4 separate regions of the Homo sapiens genome follow, and all the other regions are linked to region 4. The links are contacts of gene promoters, found by promoter capture Hi-C in human tissues and cell types (Jung and others, 2019). All regions are on one chromosome and are shown on one strand. The core of a region is centred on a gene start or on the middle of the fragment in contact, and the rest is flanking DNA. Distances in the headings are between cores, read along the strand shown. Region 1 overlaps GFRA1 (GDNF family receptor alpha 1). Region 2 overlaps GFRA1 (GDNF family receptor alpha 1). Region 3 overlaps GFRA1 (GDNF family receptor alpha 1). Region 4 holds the start of GFRA1 (GDNF family receptor alpha 1).

Region 1 (3,102 bases), core at 17-2,516, 140 kb after region 4:
ACACATTAGAGGGAGCCTATTAGAAGAAGAACAGTAGTTATATTAACATAGTAATTAATCAAGTCAGAAAGAAAAAGAGGAAACAAGTTGTGAATTCAATTCTGCAGCCTTAAAAAGAAAGGCAGAAAGATACCCAGAAATTGGCAAGCATGTGCAAACAAACGTTCTTTTATTGTCTTGTGAATTTTTGCTTCGTAAATCATATCTCTTGCAGGCCATGCAGATTTTAATATATTTACTGTTTTATTCTACCTCATAATCCATAGAAATAGATTTCTAGTTGCTTGCATCTGTGTTTCATCCTGAATCGTTTCAACTGGTTAGCTGGCCCTGGTGTTTGCCAATAACGGTGGCATTTTCTAAGTGTAAATAATCAGGGCTGCTGGCCACAGTGATAGCCTCTTACTTGGGACAGTGTGAGGATTGTATTTGAGATAAAGGCAGTTCCTTGCTCCAGAGGAATTTAGAATATGAAAGCTTCTCCCATGACATAATTCATCCCTGACACTTCCACATCTCGCTGTGTTGGAGGGACCTTTTACATTTGCTCTGCCTGCAGGTCAGGGCTGAAATCATTGGTCCATGTACTCCTTTGGAGCCGCAGACCGCGGAGAGGCCAGCGCCTCCAAGTGCATAGACCCTCTGGCTGGGGTTTTACATTCTGTCCCTCATCACCACATTTTATTCTAAATATTTGACGTTATAGTCAGAAAAGGCAGATTACATTAGAACCATCAAATCAAAGAGCCTTAAGGCTTGAAGGGACCTTAGATATATCATCTCACAAATAGGGAAACTGATGCCCATGGGGGGAAAGCTGACTTGTATGAAAACGCTCAGATGATTGGACCACATTTAAAACCCAGATGCTCCTCACTCCTAATCCATGGCTCCTTCAGCAGCACCTGACCCTTTTTGTCCTAGGTTTTGGGATCTCACCCTCGGTTGCCATGAATGTTATACCTCCCATGGCCAAGAAAACAAGAAACAAGTCACCACCAGATGTGATCACAGCCAGAGAGGCTTAGAATGATGGTAAAGAAAGCAATACGTAACCTGCAAAGTGACAACATGGCTGTGTGGAATTTGAAGTGAAAATCTGGTTAAATGGCATTCTCGGTAATACAGAGCCGAGGCTGGAGAGGAGCACATTAGCTGAGCACAACCCACTCGCATATGCACTCCCCCAAGAAAAAAGGATTTCTAGTAAACAGCGTTCATTCTGAGAATACTTCCCATTCAGACAGCGTCCCAGACATTCTACCAAGTTAAAGAATGAATAACAGCAGATGGAGGGAGAGATTAGAGGGGGAGGGGAGGGGGGAAAGCAACATTTTAATGCTGAGCTCTAAAATGAGCTGTGGAGAGGATGGCAGTTAGAGTTATAGTAAAGCTGTTCAGAAGCCTTCCCACGCAGGCGAGAAGGCGCTTGTGCCCAGACCGTAAAACACAGGCGGGCTCCTGATCCTCCGTGCGGTGTGTGAGCTGATGGAGGGCTGGCTTTGACTCCAAGGGTGTAAATTGAATCATTCTCCCCTCTCCTCCCTGTGCCCTCAAGTCATTGAGGTAGTATTTTCGTGCACTGGGGGATCCATTCAATAGATATAGAGGATCAATCTTCTTACCGGGTGAAAACTCAACCCTAATTTATATATCCTGTGATTTCAGCAGTGTTTATTTTTAACTTCATTGCAGTAGGATCCGCAGTATCAGGGCCCCGGAGAGAGCTGGAGGTGGATTTGTGAGGGACTAAGTTAGCGGGCGAAAGGAGGGGAGGGGCCAAGAGTGATTTCCCATGTGCCGTGCGCAATTGCCCATGTGAAACTTTTTGAAAAGAGTAATAATAAGGTAGGCATGAATTTATTTTTTCCAATATTTTATTATGAACATTTTCGAACATACAGAACAGTGGAAAAAAAATATGGTTAATGCATATATACTCAGCACCTGGATTCCATATTCACATCTGAATGTGCTGTATGAGCGCCCATATGTCCATCCTCTAAGTTTTTAAAATTCATTTATGAATATACTGCCCCTAAACGCTTCAGCACACATATGACTAACCAGTGTTCAATATTTGTTTAGGCTATTTCTTTTTGTGTTTTGTTGTTGTTTGTTTGTTTGTTCTTTGAGACACACTTTCGCTCTTGTCACCCAGGCTGGAGTGCAGTGGTGTGGATCATGGCTCACTGCAGCCTTGACCTTCTGGGCTCAAGTAATCCTCCCACCTCAGCCTCCCGAGTAGCTAGGACTACAGGCACATGCCACCATGCCTGGGTGATTTTTAAATATTTTTGTAGCGACAGTGCCTCCTTATATTGCTCAAGCTGGTCTCGATCTTCTGGTCTCAAGCAATCCTCCCACGTCAGCCTCCCAAAGTGCTGGGATTACAAGCATGAGCCACTGTGCCTGGCCTTTTTTTTTTTTTTTTTTTTCCTTTTGAGATAATGTTTACATAGGCACAAACCTTAAGCATACTATCTCTGAGTTTTGGCCCAAACTGTTCAACACAAGCCATTATCAAGGTAGAGAACATTACCATCACCCCCAGAAAGTTATCTCTTATTCCTTCCTAGCCAATCCTCACCCCCATTCCCTGGAAGCAGCCAGTCTTTTAATATTTTAAAAATCATAAATTAGTTTTGCCTATTCCCGAACTATATATATAATCATACTGTGCGTACTTCTGTGTGTAGTCTTTTATTTATTTTTTTGAGATTCATCCATGCTATTTTGTGTATCAACAGTTCATCTCTTCTTATTTCTGAGTAGCAGTCCACGTGGATAACTGTGGATAGATCACAGTTTGTTGAGCCATTTTCCTATTGATGGATACATGGGCTGTCTCCAGTTTTGATTATTATCAATATGCTGGTATAATATTCTTGTTCAAGTCTTTTGTGGACATATGTTCAAGTTCTCTTGGATAAAAACCTAAAAGTAGAATTTCTGGGCCATAGGGTAATTGTATGTTTAGTTTTATAAAAAGCTACCGAATGTTTTTCCACAGTGGTTGAACCATTTTCCATTCCCACCAACAATGTATGAGAATTCTAGGAACATCACATTTTGTTAAATAACATTTGATGTCAAATTTTA
Region 2 (3,425 bases), core at 682-3,181, 190 kb after region 4:
AGAAACACGAATAAACATTTTCCAAAGTCTGCTCCGAAGTGTAATTATCAACAAACCAAACGCAGTTCTGTTTGGGGAACTAGGTGGCTATGGATATGGTGAATATAGGACGCATCCATGGTTCCTATGAAAGGCTTTGCTTTAAAAAAGGAAAGTTGATTGATTAGTGTAAAATGTTACAGAAATGTCCAAGTGCTAACCCCCTGAGGTGATAAAATACCGGGTTTTGGGTTACCCGCCAAGCTCCCATTTCAGGATTAATTGGCAGTCATATTAGTGACAAGCATGGCACAGGCTGTGCTATTGTTGGCCTATTCCTTCGACTTACTTATATGAAATGGTCATATGGAAAACAAAGAAACATTAATAATCCTATCAATTACTTCATCTTCCGTGCACTGGAGTGGTCTGGTAGCTGGAAAAAGCTCAGGATATTTAAACCAAATGGACTGTGTGTGTGTGTGTGTGTGTGTGTGTGTGTGTGTGTGTGTGTGTGTGTGTTACTTATTTAAAGTAAATATCTTTGGAACGTTAGAAAAATTCTCTATTTTGCATCATTGTACACTGCTTAACTCTGGTGTCTTACAGTGAAGACATCTTAATGTGGTGTTTGTCGACCTCTGATTTCTGTGGTCAAATAGAGTAACAAGGATTGGGAGCTATAGCCTTGGGACTCAGGCCTCCTGAGAAGGTTTCACTGCCTCTGCCTTCCTTCAGCCCCTTGCCCCTGGAAATGCGTGACAGACCGTGGGGCACACGCTCAGCCCCAGGGCGAGCAGGGTAGGTGAGGATAGCTGTGGGCAGTTGGCACAGGCTCCAGTAAACAGCACAAGCCACATTCAAAGTTAGAGATTACTTTTGTGAGTCACATAAAACACATCTGTGGGTGAGACATGGAGGACCAGTGTGACAGATCTCATCCTGGTGGGACTTTTAAAACAGCATTCTAGAAGGAAACCACAAAGCAGCTTGCCTAGTCATGAAAGAGATGAAGGGTCCATGTGGATAATCTTCGAAAGCATGCTTCCTGTTAAAATCAACCATGCAGAGGGCAGCCGTCCTGCCCCCAACCACTCCACCAGTAGCTGCCTGGTCTTCTCTGGCCATCAGACCATGCTAGCCCTAAGGGGTTCACAGTAGAGACACCGTGGGCCCCTCTTTGTGTGGGGTGGGGGCAGAGGCCTTGGGGTGGGCATCTGCCTGGAGCAGAGAACCTGCCACATTCACTGGATTTCAGCCTAGGTTCACACCTTGCCAGCCTCCCAACAAAGCCTCAATACATTTCCTTATCTCCCCAGAGTCGTGTCAAGCTTAGAAAACAGGTACTTGTAGGATGCAGCCTAATGTTTGCAGAGTGGCAGGAGGGATGGAGGGCAGACCTAATCTGTTTAACTCCTACATCTTCTGCATTTGAATATTGAAAATAATCTATATTTAGATGGTCCCTTCCACCCTCTCCCCACGGCCCCAGTATCTCCTCAGATCCAAAGTCCATTTGTTCCAGATGGGGCCAGACCAGACCAGAAATGATTTCAAAACTCTTCTTTGTGGGGGCAAACCCCCAAAGTCTAGATGCGGTGGGAAGGCAATTATCCAAGCCTACCAAATACCCAGGACTCCACTGGCTGTGACCAAGTGAAAATTTTAAGTGTCGAGTTTTAAAAGGAAAGCTGCCAATGGGTGTTCTGTAAATCATTTGTGCCAGCAGACTGACCCCATTATGTCAGCTAATCCTGGAAATACAGGAGGTAAATTTCAATCTTCTAGCACGGAGCACTTAATCAATATTCTAAATGTTTTTCTTGCAATTTATGCTAGCAGAGCAATGGGATGCTTTGGCGGCCCGTTAATCTTCCACCAGAGAAGAGGCGCTTGAGAGCCAGTCCAGGGTGCTGGGATTTTGCACAGGATGATAGACTGGGAGGAGAGGAGGCCTGGGAAGATAGAAGCGAGGAAAGAGAGGTGCTTATTTCCACACCAGACTCCTGGCTCCGGGAAGGGGGTTCACCCCCTGTCCTTACCCCACCCCTCCAAGTAGGGTGAAGTAACCCTGAGAGCAGTTCTTCCGCACTTTCCTTTTCACCCATGGTTAACAGTTTAAGAGTTGGTTTTCCGGGAAAAGCTTGAGCTTTGGAGTTAGTTGGACCTGAGTGAGAATCCTGGCTCGCCTCCTGTGGCTCCATGACTATTGCTTGGTTTTTACCCTGAATCTCTGCTGTAAAACACCACTGAGCTCTTGGTTTTTTGTGAGGGATAAAGAACAGTGCAAGTATGCAAAGAGCCAGGCACAACAACAGGCTGACCCTTGGACTGGGGGAAGTGGCCTCCACTATTGGCATGGTTGGTGAGATGCATTAGAGATTTTGACACAGGAGGCTGGGGCCAGAAAGGAAGAGCTGCTCTCAGGAGCAGGGGGGCCACAGAGGAAGAACGATGGAGCTCTTTAGATTGTATTGTGTCTTCTTAATTAATAAGAAGGGTTTGAGGCTGGGTGTGGTGGCTCACACCTGTAATCCCAGCACTTTGGGAAGCCAAGGCGGCAGATCACCTGAAGTCAGGAGTTTGAGACCTGCCTGACCAACATGGAGAAACCCCATCTCTACTAAAAATACAAAATTAGCCAGCATGGTGGCACATGCCTGTAATCCCAGCTACTCAGGAGGCTGAAGCAGGAGAATCGCTTGAATCCGGGAGGCGGAGGTTGTGGTGAGCCAAGATCGCACCATTACGCTCTTGCACTCTAGCCTGGGCAGCAAGAGCAAAAGTCCGTCTCAAAAAAAAAACAAAAAAAACAAAAGCAAGGGGCGGTTTGAGCTGAATGATATCCTGCCAGTTCTAAGATGTGGTCTTGGTGGAAAGTCCCAGGGAGGAGGGGAAGAGGGAGAATGTTCTTTGGACACCAGGCCAAGAAGGAAGGGAAACCAAAGGCAATAAAAGGACTAGGTCTTCAGGGATTAGAACTGATCCAAATTCCATCTCTCCGCACATCTCCTGGGAGCTTCATCTGACTTACCTGCCTCTTGGAGCTGTGACTTGGAGCTGCCACTCTGGTCAGATCTTGGTCCAGCCTGGTGACCAGAGTGGAACTAGCTGCCACGGTCCCCGCCACATCTCTTTAACCAATGCTGACATTAGGAAGAGGTGATGCAGTTGTTAACATGAAACATTCTTGGTTGCAGAAAAGACGGTATTTGAGAACTAGTCCTGCCTCTTAGCCTCAAATCCCAGGACTTTGCAGTCTTTGCCATATCTGCACTCCACTGATCCTATTATTTGCTTCATCTTTGTCTTTAAATTCAATTATGAGCTATACTTATTTATATGCACACTACTGCCTTTGAGACTCATCTGAAGCTGTTACTAACATATGTGAAAGCATGAGTTCAATGTGCTTTCTCTATATTAAAATCAATATATAAATATTA
Region 3 (3,230 bases), core at 495-2,994, 170 kb after region 4:
CTGGGAGTTCCATCTCAACATGAGATTTGGAGGGGATGTCCAAACTATATCAAGTGGTGAAAGATGGAAGACAGGAACGAGATAATTCCTTTGAGAGTCCGAAAGTATTCCTCATGCAGACATGTCACATGATCGGAGCAGAACCAAGAGAAAGTGGAGGGAGGTGCCACACACTTGTAAAAGATCAGATCTCACAAGAACCTACTCGCTACCCAAGAGGGTGGTGCTAAACCATTCATGAGAAGTCTGCCCCCAGGATCCAATCACCTCCCACCAGGCCCCACCTCCAACACTGGGGATCACGTTTCAGCGTGAGATTTGGGTGGGGACACACGTCCGAACTATATCACTAGGCTTCAGAGAAGCTAAGATACTTGCCCAGAATGTCATGGCTAGTAAGCGATTGAGCTGAAATTTAAGTCCTAGTACATGTTCAAGTTCTGTATGAAAACCCCCTACTGTTTACTGCTTTTTAGTAGTCTTTTAGTTTTCTATTGGTGCTGTTAACAAATTACCACAAACTTCAAACAACACACATTTATTCTCTTACTGATCTATAGGGTCAGAAGTCTGACTCGGGTCTCACTGGGCTGAAATCAAGGTGTCAGCAGGGCTGAGTTCTTTCTGGAGGCTGCAGAGGAGAATCCATTTCTTTGCCTTTCCCCACGCAGGCTCATGGCCCCTTCCTCCATTTTCAGAACCAGCAAGGGCCAGGTGGAGTCTCACATGACATCACGATGACACCCTCACTTGCCTCCCTATTCCACTTTTAAAGACTCCTGTGATTCTATTGGTCCTACCGGGAAAATCCGGGATACTCTCCCTACCTCAAGATCCATGACCATAATTATATCTGCAAAGTCCATTTTGCCATGAACTGTAATGGTCTCAGGTTTTAGGAATTCAGGTCCAGATGCCTTTGAGAGCCTACCCAAAGGTAGGCATTCTGCCTGCCGCAAGCAGTTTTTCTTCTGAGCATCTATCTTGTTTTTAATTTGGGGGTATCATGAGCTAGTTGTGGAATTAGTTATGAATATCTTAACCCCCTTCCCAGTGGTTGCTGGAAATCTCTGAACCAAATATGTAGTTTTCATCCAGCCAGGGGCATGTGTACATTTTGTACTAGCTAAACCACTGCCTCTATCTTACCTTTCTGTGGTCCCCAATTCTCTCACTAATTTTTATATTCTGCCACATCACAGCTACATCTGAAGGCACTTCAAAATTCCTTCTGAAGACAGGGTGTGCGTAAATAATTAAATGAAGCCATGGTGGATGACCTTTGCTGCCCAGGATTCCTGAGCAGTTGACATGGAGCCTCTTAGCGTTCCAGAATAAATACCAGGCGACTTCAGGCATTTACTTCCGAAGGTGGAGGTGCTGCTGAATTCTCCATGAAGCAAGCTCACACTGTGTTGGTCTAGAGTTTTAAGGTGTGGTTCTGCTGGTGAAAGATTCATTGAACATCTAGATTTCCATTTTTTCTTGTGGCCAAAAGCCACAAAACTGATTTCTAAAGTTTGCCTGCAGAAATATAAAAGACTTATTGGATAAGGTTTACTCTTAAAGAGTTTTAACATATTTGTCACCTGCAGTTATCCCACTGAATATCTGAGAGCTTTATGATCCTTTCATCATCCACAAAACTTTCCATTTCTTTTCTTCTTCAATTTCTTCCCTTAAAAACAAGTACTACCAAAGCTAAAGCTAGGTTTTCTGTGTGAATGGACATAGCATAGTATGGGTAATATAAAACAATTTTATTTGATTTCGTGATGCAGCACAGGGTTGTTGGAGATCTTTCTGTGCTCCCATTACTACTTAGAGTTTTCTTGTACCATGACCATCAGTTTGCGCATTGGGATAAATAGGTGGAGGGCAGTGGATTCCTGGCAAAAGGGCAGTTCAGGGACATCTGATCTAAGGCTGCTGAAAGCCCCTTGCAAGTTGGAATGGATTTTCTTGCCAACTACCATGACTTGCTTTTCAAATTTGCCAGGTAGAGAGTACCTGTCAAGCCCTGTCAACTGCTCTGTCAATGTTGACTGATGGCTGTCAATGTTCATGCAAGGTGGCTTCGGGAGGGATGCCAAAATTGATCAGATGCCAACCTAGACTTCCCTCGGGGGGCTACTGCAGTTTGATGCAATCAGAAAGGCTAAGGAAGCATCACCTCTGTGCCCTGCAGCCTGCTTTTGCTGAACCCTCAACCTGCAGAGATACCCAAGGCAGGACGCAGGGACTGAAATAATGGGGGATTCCATCTGCATCGCCGGAACTCCATTCTCAGCCCATGAAGCTTTGCCAGAGCCCCTGTGAGTCAGGCTCAGAGTGCAGTGACAGCAGCCTCCATGGCCCATGTGCTGGGCAAACCACAAGGAGAACCCTCGCAGCCAAGAGCTGCCAAGGAGCCAGAGGAGCAACAGTGATCGGGGAAGCCCCATGTATCAGGATGAGGCTGAGCAGGGATTTGAGGGGAGCAGGAAATGATCTGTACTTGGCCACAGGGGCCTTTCTGTCCCAGGAAACAAAGGCATTAGGAAAGGCTTGAAGGCTGCTTAGACCTTATGGTATTGTTTCTCACCAACATGTGGCCGCTGTCTTGCTAAACTGCCATACGCACATCAGTTGGCGAGGCTTTAATAATCCCACTACCAGTGGGAACCTGTGTTAAGGGGCTGATGAATGCAAGATGCACAGAGCTTTGCGCATCTGCACCTGGGGCATGTGGACCTCCCCAGACCCTTTGCGTCTCCACACTCAGTCCTAGGTGGGGAGAGAATCGCAGCTCAGCTCCTCAGCTCCCCAGCTCCGCAGCTCCGTAGCCTACTCCTAGGCAAATACTAGGCCTTTGCTCCAGGAAGCCAGATGCACAGCCCAGACAGCAATAGCAACACAAAATAACACCCCCTGCAAAATGTATTTAATACAGGCCCTGGTTTCCTGAAGGATGCTTTCCAGATGTGTGTTACAGCAGACTGAGGGAGAATAGGGGCTAAGGTAATTTTCTAAAAACAGAAAGAGGAAAAATCTGTTTTGTGTCACTATACCAGACAATTACCTTTCCAGTGTTTTAGCCTTTTCATTCCTGGTCTAATATTAGCAGCATGTTTTTCTAATTGTTTTTATTCTGCAAAAGGTATTAGCAGTTTTAACAAACTTACTGATATTTAGTCCTTTTAAAAATATATCCCTTTGCTCTAAGTCCCTGGGAAAAAGTAGCTTTTCTT
Region 4 (3,489 bases), core at 366-2,865:
TTTACTCAACAACCAAGTGTAAACTGATACACTGAACTAGAGTATCCCTGAATGATGTGGCTATGGGTGTGTGTGTGTTGGAGGAGGGGTGTCTGATGAGGGCGTCCGTCTCCTCATACTTACCCTGGAGGAACACGCGTACAGCACAAGAGAAGTGCGGATCCGTAGGATGTCCCCCGGGTTTGGGGCGCGCCCCGAGGCGCAGACCCTCTTTGGCGACTCCACACAATATGCAGCCCGCCTGCAAGCAGCCGCTGCAGCCGAGGGGCGCGCCTGGCTGATGTGTGGTTGAATGGAGAGCGGCCCAACCCTCCTCCTTCCTCCTCTTCTTCTCCCCGCCCTGACACCCGGGCCTCAAACTTCAACCAAAGCCCGTGCCCTTTTCAATTTACCCCCCTCGATCAAAATGAGCCATTCTTGTCTGTCCTCCGCGGCGGCCCATTGTCTGGCGTGATAGGTTTGCAGATTTGACAGCTGGGCGCACGCAGATTTGATTCAAACTCGGTCTCCCCGAGAGATGAACTTGGACATCAGCAAAGATCCCGAGCACTGCCGGCTGGCTCCTAGACCGGTCTCCCGACCCAGTGTAGACTTCGGTGCCCCGGGCGCCCCCCGGCGTGCGGGAAGGGGAGCGTGTGTCAGGCGTGGGGGGCGGGGGGTGAGCAGCACGACTGGGAACCAGCGGTCCCAGGGGTTGGGGCGAAGGGCTGTGTACATGTTAGGCTTTTTTTGTTGTTGTTAATTTACTCTCGAAACAGCCAAAATGGAGGTCAGCTTATAAATTTTCTAAAGCCAGGTCTGGCCGGGTTTAAATGCAGTGGGCTGGGGGCTCCGCTTTTGTCTCCTTGTCGGAGCTCCAGGAGAGAGGTAGAGACTGCGTGTGCATGTGTGCGTGTGAGTGTGAGTGTGCACGCGCTGGCGTGGACGAACGGATGGGCGCATCCCAGGATCGCCGCTCCAGCGTCCTGGGTCTGAGTGTGTCTTGAAAGCACCAAGTCTTGAATCACAGCCACTAGTGACGTGGGGGAAAACTTTGTGTTCCGAAGAAGGGTCTGGCTCGATTGCCCTAAGAAGAAAGAGCCCTTGTGCCCGTGTATGTGTGTGTGTGTGTCTGTGTGTGTGTGTGAGAGAGAGAGAGAGAGAGAGAGACAGAGAGAGAGAGAGAGAGAGAGAGTGTGTGTGTCTGGCAGCACCCGCGGCCGGCTGCAGAACACTGCGTGTCCTGTGCGCGAGTACGGGTCCGGCCGCGGGTCCCACCGCAAGCGGGCGTGTGCAGCTGCGGCTGCCTGGCGGGCGAGCTTAGGAGGGAGCTGGAGCTGCGGAGCGGCGGGAACAGGAGCAGGCCGAGGGTCCTCTGGCCAGAAGAAATCTGGCCTCGGAACACGCCATTCTCCGCGCCGCTTCCAATAACCACTAACATCCCTAACGAGCATCCGAGCCGAGGGCTCTGCTCGGAAATCGTCCTGGCCCAACTCGGCCCTTCGAGCTCTCGAAGATTACCGCATCTATTTTTTTTTCTTTTTTTTCTTTTCCTAGCGCAGATAAAGTGAGCCCGGAAAGGGAAGGAGGGGGCGGGGACACCATTGCCCTGAAAGAATAAATAAGTAAATAAACAAACTGGCTCCTCGCCGCAGCTGGACGCGGTCGGTTGAGTCCAGGTTGGTGGCATTTGGAGTTTTTTTCGTTCTGTTTGGGAACCCATTGCCGCTTCCCGTCCCTCTTCCCCACTCCTTCTTCCCCCCTCCTCCGGCCACCCCTTTCTTTTTGCTGGCGTCTCCCAACTTTAGGGCCCGGGGGGCGCTCGTGGCGCCGGGCTGCACCTGCCGGGGCACGCCGGGACTGCGGGCCGGCGCGCTCGCCCTGGGCTGGGGTGCGGAAGCGCCCGAGTCCTGGGCACCGGGCGAGAGTGTGAGAGGAGCGGACGCCCAGGAGGGAGCCGAGGACGCGCGGCGGGTAGGGGGTAGGGGCGCAGGAACCGGGTTTCAGCCCCAGTCGGGACATCGGTTCCCCCTGGCTTGGCGGCCTCTGGAGGGAGACGAGTCCCGGGGAGAAGGAGGGCGGCGACTGGGGCTAGGGATTGGCGATCGGAGTGGGGAGGGCCGGCGGCTGAGCGAGCTCGCTGGCTGACGCGAGGAGGGGGAGGCCAACTTCCCGGGAGAAGGGGCTCTTTCGGCGCCAGGGCTGGCTAGGGAGCTGCCGCCGCCGCCACCGAGGGCTCGGACTCCAGGCAGCTGCAGGCTCCGCTCGCGACGCTCGGAAAGTACCGTTTATTTATTTATTTGCTTGCGTTCAGCGTCTCGGGTTGAACCCAACAGACACCCCCTTGGACTTTAGGAACCCTCTTCAGACCTCTCCAGCCCTCACCTCCATCCCCGTGTCAGCGGCCCCTGGAAAACACGCACATGCACCCCGACCTGGGTGGGGGTGGGTCCTCACCCCGGTGTTGGAAATTCCCCAAAGGCGGGAACGGGGGAGGGGAGAGGGTTCTGTGGGGGGAGTCTCCGGCGCTCTCCGCTCTCATCTCAAAGCGCGCCCTCCCTTCCAGGTTGGGTCGGACCTGAACCCCTAAAAGCGGAACCGCCTCCCGCCCTCGCCATCCCGGAGCTGAGTCGCCGGCGGCGGTGGCTGCTGCCAGACCCGGAGTTTCCTCTTTCACTGGATGGAGCTGAACTTTGGGCGGCCAGAGCAGCACAGCTGTCCGGGGATCGCTGCACGCTGAGCTCCCTCGGCAAGACCCAGCGGCGGCTCGGGATTTTTTTGGGGGGGCGGGGACCAGCCCCGCGCCGGCACCATGTTCCTGGCGACCCTGTACTTCGCGCTGCCGCTCTTGGGTAAGTCGAGGCCCGCCGCGGGCTTTCTTACCCTCTGAGTCTTTCCTAGGGTCGCTTGCAGCAGCCCACCCCGCCCTCCGCACCAAAATTGGGGCGCGGGTGTGGTGGATGTGGAAGGAAGAAGTGTCTTTTTGGGGAATGGGATCGCGAATCCCCGGGTTAGGGAGGCGGTGGCGGCGCGGCGCTGCCTGAAGCTTTTCGGGCTTGGTTTTGATTTCCTGTGGTTTTTAATGACCCAACTTGGCGGGGGACTAAGAAGCCCTCCAGCCCAGGGCCCTGCACCCCCAGAGAGTCTCTGGGAGCTCGCGGAGCCGCGGCGGGCAGGTGGAGTTGGGGAGCATTGGGGCCGGGAGAGCAAACTTGGAAGAGAAAAGTTTTTCCCGAGTAGCTTCTGGGCACTCTCCGCCCGGCGGACCGCTGACCATGGCTGGCCTGCCCCGCGCCCAGCGCGCGCCCGGTGCCCAGTCCGCCGCCGCACTTCTCCTCGGAAAGCGCCTGAGTTTCAGCCGGGCGGAGCGGGTGGCTGGAGCCGGGGGTGGCCCGGGAGCCCGGGTCGTTGCTCAGGCCAGGATGCCCCGGGGCGGAGGGCCGACGTGCGCGGTGGGCAGCGCAGGCTCTGGAGCAAACCCTTGAAGCCCGCGGGCTGAGCCTGCGCCAC

What was found. Contacts are between HindIII fragments. The study calls those that stand out against the background at their distance.
Region 1: a contact is called between a fragment that was not itself captured here and the fragment with the promoter of GFRA1 in region 4, in 2 of the 25 tissues and cell types used here (hippocampus and mesendoderm cells).
Region 2: a contact is called between a fragment that was not itself captured here and the fragment with the promoter of GFRA1 in region 4, in 3 of the 25 tissues and cell types used here (aorta, dorsolateral prefrontal cortex and mesendoderm cells).
Region 3: a contact is called between a fragment that was not itself captured here and the fragment with the promoter of GFRA1 in region 4, in 2 of the 25 tissues and cell types used here (mesendoderm cells and thymus).

Annotation. Positions count from the first base shown.
Region 1 is chr10:116,131,241-116,134,342 of GRCh38, reverse strand. All of the region lies in intron 5 of GFRA1 (GDNF family receptor alpha 1), which reads left to right. Among named protein-coding and RNA genes, the nearest start is that of SNORD158, 62 kb to the left of the region's middle. RefSeq lists a silencer at 1,311-1,605. The HindIII fragment of the contact is 5,383 bases long and covers 1-3,102 here.
Region 2 is chr10:116,081,838-116,085,262 of GRCh38, reverse strand. The region is part of intron 9 of GFRA1 (GDNF family receptor alpha 1); the gene reads left to right. Among named protein-coding and RNA genes, the nearest start is that of SNORD158, 110 kb to the left of the region's middle. The HindIII fragment of the contact is 5,019 bases long and covers 1-3,425 here.
Region 3 is chr10:116,103,559-116,106,788 of GRCh38, reverse strand. The region is part of intron 6 of GFRA1 (GDNF family receptor alpha 1); the gene reads left to right. Among named protein-coding and RNA genes, the nearest start is that of SNORD158, 90 kb to the left of the region's middle. The HindIII fragment of the contact is 5,863 bases long and covers 1-3,230 here.
Region 4 is chr10:116,271,332-116,274,820 of GRCh38, reverse strand. It overlaps GFRA1 (GDNF family receptor alpha 1), which reads left to right and starts at 1,615. Exons shown (of 11, transcript NM_005264.8): 1 at 1,615-1,658; 2 at 2,546-2,831. The coding sequence starts at 2,792. LOC107984273 (a long non-coding RNA gene) reads right to left here and starts at 812. Exons shown (of 2, transcript XR_001747598.2): 1 at 1-812. RefSeq lists a silencer at 1,110-1,404 and an enhancer at 613-1,450. The HindIII fragment of the contact is 12,805 bases long and covers 1-3,489 here.